5 separate regions of the Homo sapiens genome follow, and regions 2, 3, 4 and 5 are each linked to region 1. The links are contacts of gene promoters, found by promoter capture Hi-C in human tissues and cell types (Jung and others, 2019). All regions are on one chromosome and are shown on one strand. Each heading gives the region's core, a stretch centred on a gene start or on the middle of the fragment in contact. The rest is flanking DNA. Distances are from core to core; before and after follow the strand shown. Region 1 holds the start of CYYR1 (cysteine and tyrosine rich 1). Region 2 has its middle 120 kb from the start of CYYR1. Region 3 overlaps CYYR1-AS1 (CYYR1 antisense RNA 1). Region 4 has its middle 80 kb from the start of CYYR1. Region 5 overlaps CYYR1 (cysteine and tyrosine rich 1).

Region 1 (2,879 bases), core at 116-2,615:
GTATGAAGTGTCTATTAATATCCTTCCTCAGTTATCTCTTGGTTGTTTTTCCTATTGATTTTTTTAAGCTCAGTATAATAATGAGATTAGGACTTTGCATTGCAAATATTTTTGCCAGTTAAATGTCTGCCAACTGGAAGTATTAATTCTTATTTAGTCAAGTTGGTCAATATTTTGTTTTATGGTTTCTGAGTTTTTTATAATGCTTAGAAAAGGCTTCCCTATTCCACAATTATTTGAATGTTATCCTCTTATTTTTTAATCTAATATTTTCATAGTTGTATCTTAAATATGTAATTCATATAGAACTGATTTTGATGTAAAAAGATAAGGCTCCACAGATGGCTATTTACGGCCTCAACACTTTTCACTGAGTAACTCATCATTTCCCCTACTACTTTACATTGATATTTCTTTAAACCATAAATTAAATTGCTGTACATACTCATGTCTACTTTTGGGTTACCTTTTCTCTTTCACTAAGCCTATCTATTCCAATGTTAATCTAAACTGTTTTAATTATTGTGATATTATATGTAATATCCCATTCATTATTCCCATTCATTACTCTTGTTTTAAATAGATATTCTTACATATTTATTTTCCATATAAACTTTAGAATCAGATTGGTTTGAAAAAAATCATGTTATTTTAAAAATTGGGATCAATTTTATTTCCAAATGTATATAATAATTTGGGGAATCTTGTTGTCTTTATCCTACTAAATTTTCTTAGTGAAAAAAGTATCTCTTTACTTATTCGTATCATTTTTTTTCCTTCATGCATAACATTGAGAACTTTCTGATTTTTGTTTGCAGGAAAGAAAACTATTGGTTTGCTAAACAAGAGCTTTATAGTTGATTAACTTTGATTTTCCATGTATACACGTATTTCATTTGCTAATGACAATTTAGCTTTCATTTTTCATAAATCTTTTTCTTTCTCTTGTTTAATTGCATAGGCCAGTAACTCCAAAACGTCAAAATCATAACGACAGTGTGCACTGTTGTGTTTTTTTTTTCTGAATTTACAGGAAAAAATAATAAACATTTTATCAGCTTTCAGCAGAGATGCCATACACTTTCTGTACTTCCCAATCCTGAGTTTTCTTCACTGTCACTCTTTGTCGAATACCTTCAACCCTGAAAATTCCTTCCCTTTGTTTAAAGATAAAAAGCAAAGTTGTTCATCCATTGCTTAGAAAGGAAAAATTGTAGTGGAGGCAAGGTTAAAAAGGAGCAGGCTGAACTCCATAGCAATCGCCAAAGCAAGGGGTTAGGAAAAGTTTCTTGGTCCCCTAGTCACTCTTTAGAAGGAAGAACCCGGGCTTGGGGAGGAGTCGGGGCCACCCCCGCCCCCTGCCCGCAGTCGTTGCCACCCGCGGAGATGAAATGTGAGCCTGGGTGGCCAAGGACGCCGGAGTGGCCGCCTTCCCCGCGCCTGAGCGCAGTGGGGCGAGACAAAGAGACCTGGGCCCCCAGCGCAGCCCGTCTCGGGCCACGGGCGCCCCAGCTCCGCGGAGTCCCGCAGTCGCTGGCCCGGGACGCGCCCGGCCCGGGCTCCCTTGGAAGGCTCCCTAGGCAATGGCCGGGTCTCTGCTCCACCCGGCTCTCAGGAGCGCTGCTCTCTCCATCTGATCGCCCTCCATCCTCCCCATTCCCTCCGGTTCCGGGCTCTCCCTTCGCTCCAAGCCTCAGGCCACCGGCTTGGATGGACGCTCCGAGGCTACCCGTGCGTCCAGGGGTCTTGCTTCCGAAGTTGGTCCTGCTCTTTGTCTACGCAGGTCAGTGACGGAGGGCGGCGGAGAGGGTCAGAGGCTCGGGGCTGCCCTTGGGTCACGGTCCGGGCTAACGTGGGTTGAGCTGGACGGACCGGGACCTTTGCAGAAGGACCTTTGCAGACGCTTCTGCCTTTTCCGCGAGGCGACGGCAGAAACCCGCGCACTTCCAGCCGCACGCGGTTTTGTTTTGTTCCTTTTCCTTTAACTTTTACCTTTTGCATTTCTTTTCTTTCCCTTTCCACCTTGGAAATAGCAGTCTCGTGTTTAGGGGATTTGACTCTCTGGATAGAGTAAACTATATCCAAATAAACTTATCTGGATAGGCTAGGCAGTGGCCTCTCCATCTTCTGCTTTCTAAATAGTCCTGGTTTTCCCTCTTGTGAATAAAAAAAACTTAGAGCTTTGTTTTCGTTCTTTGGGAGATTCACAAGTGTGGTAGACTGAGCTATTGGACTGAAGTCAAACACAAGGTTTTTGAGAAGCATGAATTCACCCAGGGTCTAATCTGTACAGGTTCGTTGATTTAGATAGACACTTGTTTATAAGAGAAGGGCATCTGGTTTCCCTTCTAATTATTCGTAGTAAGAACTGCTAATAATTAACGAAGCAAAGTGGGTTTTCTTGTTTGTGATTAATATGGAGCCCCAAATGGCCTTTCATTGGTTATTCAGGTATAAAGTGTCTTACACACGTGGTCTTTGCATCAGTTCATATTCACAAAACAATGCAAGCTAAAAGCAAAGTTCTTTGTAAAATGTTTTTGTGTCTCTAACGTCCTATGACAAAAATCGCAGGCTCACCCCTGAGCCTCCAATACGAAATGTATATATAGCACTGAAATTTACCTTTGATACTCAAAAAGATATTGCAACTGAAATGATGTTCTTCAGTGTTGCACCTGAGTATTAAAAGAATTGAATTTCTCATTCAACCTTGCTAGAAAAGAGTCACCATAACTTCTGTAGACATTTTTAGCCTGTTTATTGAAATGCAAATTAGTGGCTGTCTAGGAGTTACCATTTTAAAGATGTTTTATGGCAGGAAAAATGCTGACCTTCTAATATGAAAATTCATAAAAGTAGGATAAGTTCTTCGTATT
Region 2 (2,879 bases), core at 188-2,687, 120 kb before region 1:
GATTGGTTGGCTCATTACCTGGGCTGAAATGGATGGTGGCTGCACTATAGACACATATAGGAGTGGCCTTGAAAAAGAGCAAAAAGGGAAATTCTTTCCAATGGGCAGAGCTATGAGCAGTGAACTTAAGCATTCACTTTTTGTGGAAAGAGAAGTAGCCCAAAGTGATAATATGTACAGATTTCCATTCAGTGGCCAATGTCCTGGATGTCTGGCCAAGGATTTGGAAGGAACAGAATTTGGAAGAGCGGAGACAATAAATTCTAAGGTATAGGTCCATGGTTGACATAGAAGAGTGAGACTGTCATACAACGTGTGAATTAAACCTTAGATATTATTTTTAATTTGCCATGTTGATCTACCTCTATCTGTTGAGCTAATCTGCATACCAAACCTGTGCAGGCCTAGTGAATAATTTAAAAGTTAGATCTTTGTTTCTCCTTCTACTTCTTTAGTCATGTCTAATGAAAAATTCCAAATATATAAAGTAGGAAGATGGAGTAAAGAAGCCAACTTTCTTTCTCCAAAATCTTTCTTCCTAAAAAAGTGATTAACTCAATATCTGATAGAACTAAATACGTGAGACATAAACTTTGATAGTTTATGGGAGCAGGTGAAAAGAATATAGCTACCTACAGTATTTTTATGCAAAATCCCCAAAAATACACAAATGTATGGTAATAATTCTAGAATTAGCAGTTTCAGATTTCAAGTTCAATAAATCCATTACTAAGTATCTCTTAATATCTGCTCAATTGTATATTCAAAGGATGTGAGGCCCCAGGAATATAAAACATGATCCCTGCCTCCAAGGCGCTTACAATCTCCTTGGGGAGATAAGACTGACACTTAGGAAGAAATGAAGAACAATATAAGACAGTAATCTCGTCATACTAGAGAAAATTCAGAATAGATACCCATTCTCTCTAGTGAATATGTAGCTTTCTGAAAGCAGAAAGCTTAGAGGCTCTAAACAGGCCCCTTAGATGGGAAGAAACTTGAGGCTGAATCTTGATGATGATAAATTGATAAGATGCCCACAGGACTGGGAGAGAGACATTTTCTTCAGGGAACCGAGTGTGACATCTAACCATTGAGAACTACAGAAAATACAAGGGCACTTTGGCACCTCACACTCAGAGCATCCGGATGGTGGTACCCAAGTGCACCAGGGAACTTAAGGTTGGCAATGTCCAGTACAAAGCATTTAATTTCTGCCTTTAGAGGCAATCATTGGTATTCCTAAGCACCAGTTTGCAGTCTGGAGTCAACTGACTTATGATAGAGTTTGCAGAAGCTGACAGCCTGGTTAACTGACTCTCAGTAATCATTTTCTTTGGAACTTATCTGCCCCCAAACATCTGGTACTTCATTTTGCCTCCTCCAAAATGGATCTGAGTGGAGATGCTTGAAGTCCCTGGATTCCATGTTTGCCTACCAGCCAGACTGTCCGTGGCTGGGAGCATCTGCACCTGGAAAAGCTCTGTTGGACCTATCTCATTTCATTGTTGCTCATCACATACTCTTTCATCATACGAATAGTCACTATGGCCAGTTGAATTACCATAAGTTACAGTTAAATAATCTCAAGAACTCTAAATTATAATTTTAGGTTCTTTTGTCAACTGTTTCTTTTTTTTTTTTTTTTTTTTTTTTTTAAGACAGAGTCTTGCTCTGTCATCCAGGCTGGAGTGCAGTGGCTTGATCCCGGCTCAGTGCAACCTCCACCTCCTGAGTTCAAGCAATTCTCCTGCCTCAGCCTCCCAAGTAGCTGAGATTACAGGTATGTGCCACCATGCCTGGCTGATATTTGTATTTTTAGTAGAGACAGGATTTCACCATGTTGGCCAGGCTGCTCTTGAACTCCTGACCTTTTGATCCGCCCTCCTTGGCCTCTCAAAGTGCTGGGATTACAGGTATGAGCCACTATGCCCAGCCTATCAACTGGTCTTTATGACATATAGCAATTTAAAAAGCCAATTCAAACGTAAGTTTGAGTTGGGCATTGCCAGCACTTTTTATAGTCCTAAATTAACTGGAAACCAGTATCATACTAAATTGGCATTCTACCAAGTGTTAGCTTGCTGTATGATACGTCACTTGGGTAGCAAAAGGAGTGAAGAGGAAGAAATGTCACTATAATTGATTATTTACCTACTGTGCTTTTCTTTTATCATACCTACCTACTGTGCTTTTCTTTTATCATAACTTGATGAAATCAGAACAGAACCCGCCTATTTTACAGATGAGGAAATACGTACTCAGAAAAAAACTTTCCAAGTGTTGAAAGCCTGATTATGGAAGAGCCAGTTCACACCTCTGACAAAAAGATAATGCTACCATGTTGAGCTTGTGATTTTTAGTTGCCTAACAACATACCATTTTTAAAAATGCCTGTGCACGTTCAAAGCTTCTCCTCAGAGATCATAAGTGTTTCCAGGCAGCTGCCCTGAATGAAAAGCTTCCCAGAAAGTGAAAAATTTTTCATAAATGCATTAAACAGGAGCTGCAAGGCATTATACTCATATATATTTATGAGTAAATCTCATGTAAGCCAAAATAGATCATGGGTCATTTTCCATAAAATGGAAGAGAAAATACATTGAAATATAGCCATCTGGTTTTCCATCTCAGATACATTCCTGCAAAACTGAGCCCAAAGTTAAAACATACATGTTTTATATCAAGGCATCTTTCACATGTGGGTTTCAAGAAACTCTGACTAAGAGGAAAAATCCACTTTTGTTTCTCAGAGAAATGCTTTACATTACAGGCTACTTCACAACTAAGGCAAATTCTAAGTATCTATATCAAAATTTTGCACTTATAGTTTCATGTCAGAAAGTAGTTACCTCAATTTTAAAATGTGAGAATCACTA
Region 3 (2,879 bases), core at 178-2,677, 130 kb after region 1:
GGCATAAGCAGAGGAGGATTTTTTTCAGATTGAAACAAAACAGAATTCTGTGAAATCCACGGAACCCACAAGAAAATATTTAAATGCTCATAACCCCACAAATAAGGATTTAGGCTGTGATCTACGGTACTGTGCAGTAAATTCCTCAGTATCTCTAAATCTGTGAAGGAGCATGAGCAGCCTGCCAATGAACGACTGAAGTATCAGGAGGACCAGTTCCAAGCACCGTCTGCCTATCATTGACTCTATTATGTGCAATTTGACAAAGCTTTTGTTATCCTCTCCGCTGGAGCTATTTTTACATTGTAAGTTTGTGTAGCAATTTCTCTCTGGGTACTTTTCCATTGATTCTCACAACAAGCCCTTCTAAAAAGGAAACGCAAGCCAGATATGTTTCAACATGTGTTCAGTGGTAAGGAATGCTCAGTCATTTTAGAAGAGGGATGATGTGTGGAACAGGGAAACAACTCTCATTTGTCTATTAAAGACAACAAACTAAAAGGGAGTAATCTGACTTTCTGCTCAAGGACTCCACTGTGAATAGAGAGGCACAATAAATACAGGTTCTTCTAGCTTGTCTGAAAAGGTGATAGTAAAATGAGTTAATATAAATAATAAAATTAATACAGAGTAAGACGATAAAATGTAATAGAAAGTTTAACAGACTCTGGAGGCCCCTTGCCACGTCAGACTTAGTCCTGGAGTTTCTGCATAGTTGGGAGGTGGAAAATGGTCCCTGGGGAGGAGCCAGGGTAGAGTAGGAGAAGAATCTGGAGGACTGAGTATAGCACCTAACTGGTAAATGGTAAGAAATTATTCTCATATTTCAACAGGGGTACAGCCCCTCATTCCCAGGGTACGTCATCGATTTTTGCAGCTGATACTGAGACTAGAAAGCATGCCTTAAGTCAATGTTTCTCAGTGTATATTCCTTTAAGCTAGTGATTCTAAAATGTGTGTGTTTTGCTTTCCAAAGGATGTTTGGCGATGTCCAGGGGGCATTTCTGGTTGTCTCAACTTGGGGAGAAAATATCAGCGTCTAGCCGGTAGACATGAGAATCCTGCTAAAGATCCGACAGCTCCCACAATAAAAAATAATCTGGCCCAAAATGTCAATAGGGTCAAGCTGACAAACACTGCCTTAAGCATTATATATACAGTTACAATAAATTCTTCTAATTATTTTTCTTGACTGAATTTATTGATATTTCAATGACCAGAATAAATATTCTAATCCAAGAGGACACAACACAAAAATAACTTGGACACTGCTAATATCTATGCTTGTCATAATGTGAACTATATTCTTTTTGCTCTTGATAAAACACAGGAAACCTCAGGCTAACATCCTCAGATTAGTTCAGACATGCCATTGAAGAATTATGTTCTATTTGCAAAGTCAAAAATGCCATGCATGGATTCTTTCAGAAAGTCTTCACGTTCACAAAACATAGTAGTAAGTTATTTCCTGCAGAGGTCTTAGAAGATTAGACTGCTAACATGAACGTGTGAGATGAGTAAATTTTTTCACATGTAAAATTCCTGAGACAAGATGCTTAAAATTCCTGGGACAAGATGCTTTAGAAACCTTGACCTAAAGGCCATTGGTTCTTTGAATCCACTTCAGCGATTTGAATGTGTGTGTGTGTGTGGTGTGTGTACCAACAATCACAGATGTGACATTGCTGAAACATAGGTTTGCAAATGTGCAATGTGGCACCATTAGAGAGAAGCTTCCATCTATACTAAAAAGAGGAAGGCTCAAATGCTTCTTGAGAGGAAATGTTTTAATGTCCTAGAATTCAGTATTCTAGTATTTAGTATTCATTAGAAATAGCTATTGGAAACTAGGTATTTTTTCAGGGTGTATTTTAAGGAATAGTGAATTTTAAAAAGAAAAACGGTGTCTGCATGAGCAGACACCTGAGTAAAAGGTCCAAAGATATATTTTTTTCTAAGGATTATGTCAAAAGACCCATCCTATTCTTATTAATTGTCATCAATTTGTCAGTGGTACAATCTGAAGTTGGACAGTACTTTGTGACGAGCTTATCCAAGGCTAACTCCGTTGTGGATCAACCCAACATTCTTCGTGCTTAGGAGAAAGACTTTTGCACAATTTGGTTTTGTCCAAGTTATTCACAATACCAACAATGCATGTCCAGATACTTCACAAATTGGCACGTCTCAAAATAATGAGTTAAAAAAATGGCCATTTTAAATTATGTTTGCTCCTAGAATTTTTTAGCCATTTCCACAGGTGTAGAATTCCAGATGTAATAATCATCACTAGTTTTCATGACAAGGCATCAGCAGAAGGCAAGTTTACAAAAAGAAATCAGTCATACATTTTTTGATATATCAGGACATAAGTAAAAAAAAAAGTATAAACCAGCAACTTTCAACATGACCAAAATTTGAAAATTTCTACCACAATTTTCTCCAACCAAAGCCCGTTAATTTGCACAACAATGTGAATAGACTTAATACTACTGAATTCACATACTTAAAAACGATTAAAATGGTACATTTTTTGTTATGCATATTTTACGACAATAAAAAAAAATCCTACTAGCAACTACTAAGAAATGTCAGTCCATGGAGTAAATATTTTCAAAATGAGTCGCTTTCTAGAATCAGAAATGTATGAAAATTTGAATCTGTGCTAGAATTTCAGCATCAGTAACAGTTTCCTACCCCCTCTTTAACGCTCATGGTGCTATGCATACTCATACCAAAATGGTCCATGTGTTGAATGTCTCTTGTGCCTTTTCTCGTGTTCTTTTGGCTAAAAGTCTTTTAATGCAACTGTCACTCAACAACTACCTTATTATCACAGGTGTAGCCTCACAGCACCTTTCCTCAGATGCACCACTCAG
Region 4 (2,879 bases), core at 259-2,758, 80 kb before region 1:
CCAAAGGATTATAAATCATGCTGCTATAAAGACACACGCACACGTATGTTTACTGTGGCACTATTCACAATAGCAAAGACTTGGATCCAACCCAATGTCCAACAATGATAGACTGGATTAAGAAAATGTGGCACATATACACCATGGAATACTATGCAGCCATAAAAAATGAGTTCATGTCCTTTGTAGGGATATGGATGAAGTTGGAAACCATCATTCTCAGCAAACTATCACAAGGACAAAAAACCAAACACTGCACGTTCTCACTCATAGGTGAGAATTGAACAATGAGAACACTTGGACACAGGAAAGGGAACATCACACACCAGGGCCTGTTGTGGGGTGGGGGGAGGGGGGAGGGATAGCATTAGGAGATATACCTAATATAAATGACGAGTTAATGGGTGCAGCAAACCAACATGGCACATGTATACATATGTAACAAAACTGCACGTTGTGCACGTGTACCCTAGAACTTAAAGTATAATAAAAAATATATACAAAAAGAAAAATATCCACATATAAGTGGACAGAGACCTGCACCCTTCAAATCTGTGTTGTTCAAGGGTCAACTGTCAATCTTAATCTCACTCTTCCATCTTCTGCTCCAGAATCCAGAGGATAAGAAATCCATGATGTAGCAGCATGCTGGGACATAAAGCAGGATGGGAATGGGTAAAAAGTGGGTCTAGAAGGATTAAATAGAAAATAATCCACACAATCACTACACCTGAAAATCGTAACCATGTGAAACAACAGGGCAGGCACACCAGGACAGATCTTTCAGTCCAATTTGAGCTCTAGAATATGGCATTCCAAAAGTGGGATGCTACAAATAGTCTCATTGAGAGTCAACTTGCACAATGTATTGTCCTACCCTTACATCAATTTCTGAAACAACTTCTCTTTGCACTTCCCCTGTAGTTACATGCATAATAAATTCTGACAACTCTTATGAAGTCATGGAATAACTTTCTTCTTATGTTTCCTATCAATGTCATTAGCCCTTTATCTTGTTTGAGTTTCCATCAGCAATGTTTTCAAGTCCCAAGATCATTCATGTATCCACAAGCAATGATACGCCAGATTTGGACAAATAATACTGAATACTATCTTATTTTCACTGCCATGATCAAGGCAGTGTGGATTGCTGCCAAGTCCAAGAGAAGTGAGGTCAGCAGCTGCAAGCCACCTCCGTCATTTAGAAAAGCTTCGTGATGTAGTGTGTCGTTTCGATGTGACACTGTCTCACAGAGTTAAAATGATGTGCAAGGAACTGTTCAATGGAAATTTAGAAATTTCTCTTTTTCTCAATTTTAGTGTAAGGAAAATGTCTGCTCAGTTAAAAAAAAAAAAAAAAAAGTAGTAGTGCCACCCAGTTTCAGGCAGAAATAGCTGCAGTAACACCCTTTTCTGACCAGAAAGATGAATTGCCTGTAACTATTACCACTTGAAAATTTTGGCCTAAATTTTCAGCTTTAATGTAGTATTTTTAAAAGCAGGAAAATCTTGTTCTACTGGAAATGTTCGTGCTTCTTCACTCTTCGGCAGAATATACTGCATCCAAGAAAAGAATTTATTTTTCTCCTTTAAAATTTCAAATCTCAGTGATTATGGGGAAAAAAATCTGTGTTGGGTGGTGCAATAAAGGCTTCACATAAGTAGGCAGCTGTAATATGTTTTAGGCACAGAAGCAAACTCTTCATGTTCTAGCAGCTAATTAAGATAAAGATTTGCTTGGCATGCAATTTTGCTTCCCTAACATCTTTTATATTGAAGTCACTCTGACTTAGAGAGCATCCTACATTTTAGTCACTGACCCATAAAGTACAAATGAAAGCTGGTAAAAGGAAAACAATCAGCATTCTGAATAACTCGCTGGGAAATGCCTCAAACTTGAAGGATGTTTTAATAATAATTCACCAATCAATTCCATTAGTCTTAAAGATGAGACAAGTACAAAGAGAAAATTTGAATTACACAGCTCCTCTTGCTACAATTTAAAGCTATTTTGAGCTAAGTTTAAACCTTTTGAAATGTAGTATCTTGCTGTCTTTGAGCCAGAAAAATGCAAGATACTAATAGTAAAACCCAATTAATAATAAACTATATTTCTGTGCTTCACATTTTTGCTCAAGTGATGCCCTTTATATCTCAATGCCATATTTTAACAGCTCTCTTTATTCAAAAAACCATGCCAAGCAAAGGTAATTTAAACTGCTTTTATCATGCAACCTTAACACCTAGTTTTTAAAAATAAGGATTTCTTAAAAAGTTTTTCATCCACTGTAGCCTTTTTTTAGTCACTATCTCTCTTAACATACTTATTTGTTCTACTCGTGCTTTACCTAATCCTAGCATGCTCTGCTAATGAATTTATTTGTTTCTGATCACTTTTTCAAATGACAGTTTTGTTTTTTTGTTTGGGAGATTTTGTTTGGGGTTTTTTGCATATATATTAATTTCCTGAGGCTGCCATATTAAACTGTCATATCAAACATATTCTATACCACAAACTTGGAGGCTTAAACAACGGAAATTTATGGCCTAACAGCTCTGGAGGTCAGAAGTCCAAGATGAAGGGTCAGCCAGGTTGGTTCTTCTGAGGACTGTGAGGGGAAATCTGTTCCTTGCCTCTGCCTTAGCTTCTGGTGGTTTGCAGGCAACCTGACATTCCTTGGTTTGTAGCTGTATCATCTCCATCTCTGCCTTCATCTTCCCATGGCATTCTTCCTGTGTGTATGTCTTTGTCCAAATTTCTCCTTTTTGTAAAGGCAACAGTCATCTTGGATTAGGGGCCCACCCTACTCCAGTATGACTTTATCTTAACTAACTACATCTGCAATGAACCTATTTCCAAATAAGGTTACATTCTGAGG
Region 5 (2,879 bases), core at 124-2,623, 86 kb after region 1:
CTTCAGTGAGCCACTGCACTCCAGCCTGGGTGACGCAGTTAGACCTTGTCTGGAAGGAAGGAAGGAAGGAAGGAAGGAAGGAAGGAAGGAAGGAAGTAGGGGAAGATGTAGTCTTTATTTTAGTCAACCCTCAGACTTCTTTTATCAAGGAAAATGTAGAAAATGAATATTGGGTTACACAATTGTCTCTGTCATGGGGCTTGAGTCAATAAATCACGTAAATTTATTCATTCAAAGAGATATTAGTTTCCAGTTTTATTATCATGAGGCTAACAGAAAGAAGTTATCTATAAAGCCCCAAGAAAGAGGATATATTGAGTGAAGTTATTAAGGGGAGTCACCAGAATGAAAGAAAAAAAAAAAGCAAAATAAAAAAACATTATTAGCATATTTGGATTTTACAGATTTTTTTTTTTTTTTGCAAGTAATGTAGACTTACTGGAAAAATTACATGGATTGGTCTTCCTACCCTCCTAAGCATTTTACACTTGGAGTAGTAACAATATTTAATAACAATTTAACTATTCGATATTATGGTTTTCTTATCTGATACACGTATACATAGATGTACATGTAACCAGACTCATAGAGATAAAAATAGAAATAGAGATAGTTCTGAGATCCTACGATTAATATAAGTAAATACTGTTAATATTGAAAATGATACTCCATTGAGTTTGTTTTTCTATTATTTTCTGTATTTATTTAAGCAACAGAGAAGAAAATGCATTATTTTTAAGTTAAGCAAGTCAAAGTGTTACTAAAATTGCCAATGATTTATAATAAAACATTGTATTCAAGGGTATTACAGTATTTTAATGAATTGGCCAAAAGAATGAATTATTGAGGAAGTAGGATGATCTGATATAGAATTTTGCCAAGATTTATTCTCATGTATGTAGTCGACTTTCAGCGCTGTAGTAGGAATAGGATTTTTATCATTGCTTAATTCATCTCATGTGTATCATCACAAATAAATAAGTCGACTAAATATTACCTTCTTTAACAAAAGATAAAAATGCTTTAGCTTCACTTATAATTTTTTTATTTTAATAAGAAATAAACCTACTTTAAGTTTATTCTTTTGAAGCTATGGTTACTTTTTCCAGAGAACTCTCTCTTCTGATACTTTTACCTTTGACTTATTTCAAAGGTAAAGGTATTTTATTTCAAACTCTTATTTCCATATGGAAGTTTATCCTAACAAAAATATTCTAGAATTTTCCCCACTTTTTGTATAGGTGTAAAATATCCGTGTGGTATCAAATATAGATATCAAATATCCGCATGGCCTTTTTAATTTTTCTACTTTATTGGGACTGCTGTTACTAAATTATTACATAGAATATTCATAAGCCCTTTGATTTATAGTTTTATAAAATGCATTTGTAAATTGGGTCGTATCCGAGAAGAAGATAAATATTACTCTGGCGTACTTTTCATATCTGCTATTTTCCTTAAATATTATTTAATATTAATAGTAAAACCACATCAAGATAACTAGTAAGCTGCTGTATAGCAGTGCTAAGCCTAAAAGTGTTACTGCAACATGGCAACATTATCAGAATCTTTTTTTACTCATGAAAAGCGATTTATGGAATAAAATATATTATCTCTGAGCTTTGTTATAAAAGACAGTTTCATATTATTTCAGCCACCATAGATACATTTAATATCTTGATTATAAAATCTCATTTTGCAAAAAAAGAAAAAAAAATTAGCTAAATTAGAACCTAGAAACAGTCCTGCACAGGCCAACTGATTTTTGACAAAGGTGCAAAAGCAATGCGATGGGGGGATGAGGAATGCTTTTAATAAATGGTACTGAAGTAGCTGGCTATCCACAGGCAAAATAATCTGGTAATAATGAACCTCAACCTAAATCTAATACCTCGTACAGAAATTAAACAAAAATAGATCATAGGTTTAAATATCAAATGTAAAATAATCAGTCTTTTAGAAAGAAGCATAGGAGAAAGTCTTCAGGACCTAGGGCTTCATGAAAAGTTCCCACGTATGACCCCAAAGCACAATCCATAAAAGAAAAAAAATGATAGATTGGACTTTATTTAAAAACTTTTGTTCTGTGAACGACCCTGTTGGGAGAATGAAAAGATGTGCTACAGACCAGTAAAAATATTCGCAAACTACATATTTTGTAAAGGACTCAAATAATTCTCAAAAACTCAACAGTAAAATAACCAAGCAATCCAATTAGAATATGGGCAAAAGACTCAGGTGGACATTTCACTGAAGAAGATGAATGGCAAATAAGCTTTCGAAAACATGTTCAACCTTGCTAGCCATTACGGGAATGCAAATTAAGGCCATGATGAAATACCACTACACTTAATGCTTTATCCGTTAAAACAGCTAAAAAACAGATTATAAAACTAGATACTGGCAAGGACGCAGAGAGGATCTCTCATACCTTGCTGGTAGGAATGTAAATAACTTGGAAGTTTCTTTAAAACTCAAACATACATTTATCGTACATCCCAGTAATTGCACTTCTGGGCATTTATTGCAGAGAAATGAATACTTATGTCCACACAAAAATCTGTACATGATTGTTTATAGCAACTTTATTTGTCAAACCAAAATGCCCTACAATAAATAATGGTTAAACAAAGTGTGTTATAGCCATATCATGGACTGCTTGCTCATCTAGGAATGAACTACTGATACATGCAGAAACTGGAATGGATTCCAAAGGCATTACGCTGAGGGAAAAAAGACTATCTCCAAAACTCACATGCTGTATGATTCCATTTGTATAATCTTCTTGAAATGACTAAATTACAGAAACGGAGAACAGATTGCTGATACCCGGGGTTATTGATGGCAGAGAGAAGGCATGTTGGATATGACCATAAAGC

The links. The method cuts DNA at HindIII sites, captures the fragments that hold promoters and counts their contacts. A contact is called where the count stands out against the background at its distance.
Region 2: a fragment that was not itself captured here is called in contact with the fragment with the promoter of CYYR1 in region 1 in 2 of the 25 tissues and cell types used here (aorta and dorsolateral prefrontal cortex).
Region 3: a fragment that was not itself captured here is called in contact with the fragment with the promoter of CYYR1 in region 1 in 3 of the 25 tissues and cell types used here (dorsolateral prefrontal cortex, mesendoderm cells and spleen).
Region 4: a contact is called between a fragment that was not itself captured here and the fragment with the promoter of CYYR1 in region 1, in 2 of the 25 tissues and cell types used here (H1 embryonic stem cells and aorta).
Region 5: a contact is called between a fragment that was not itself captured here and the fragment with the promoter of CYYR1 in region 1, in 2 of the 25 tissues and cell types used here (H1 embryonic stem cells and mesendoderm cells).

The regions. Positions count from the first base shown.
Region 1 is chr21:26,571,772-26,574,650 of GRCh38, reverse strand. It overlaps CYYR1 (cysteine and tyrosine rich 1), which reads left to right and starts at 1,365. Exons shown (of 4, transcript NM_001320768.2): 1 at 1,365-1,783. The coding sequence starts at 1,711. The HindIII fragment of the contact is 7,865 bases long and covers 1-2,879 here.
Region 2 is chr21:26,693,830-26,696,708 of GRCh38, reverse strand. No RefSeq gene overlaps it. Among named protein-coding and RNA genes, the nearest start is that of CYYR1, 120 kb to the right of the region's middle. The HindIII fragment of the contact is 5,627 bases long and covers 1-2,879 here.
Region 3 is chr21:26,446,799-26,449,677 of GRCh38, reverse strand. The region is part of intron 1 of CYYR1-AS1 (CYYR1 antisense RNA 1); the gene reads right to left. Among named protein-coding and RNA genes, the nearest start is that of CYYR1-AS1, 42 kb to the right of the region's middle. The HindIII fragment of the contact is 3,875 bases long and covers 1-2,879 here.
Region 4 is chr21:26,651,928-26,654,806 of GRCh38, reverse strand. No RefSeq gene overlaps it. Among named protein-coding and RNA genes, the nearest start is that of CYYR1, 80 kb to the right of the region's middle. The HindIII fragment of the contact is 3,126 bases long and covers 1-2,879 here.
Region 5 is chr21:26,485,458-26,488,336 of GRCh38, reverse strand. The region is part of intron 2 of CYYR1 (cysteine and tyrosine rich 1); the gene reads left to right. All of the region lies in intron 1 of CYYR1-AS1 (CYYR1 antisense RNA 1), which reads right to left. Among named protein-coding and RNA genes, the nearest start is that of CYYR1-AS1, 81 kb to the right of the region's middle. The HindIII fragment of the contact is 7,460 bases long and covers 1-2,879 here.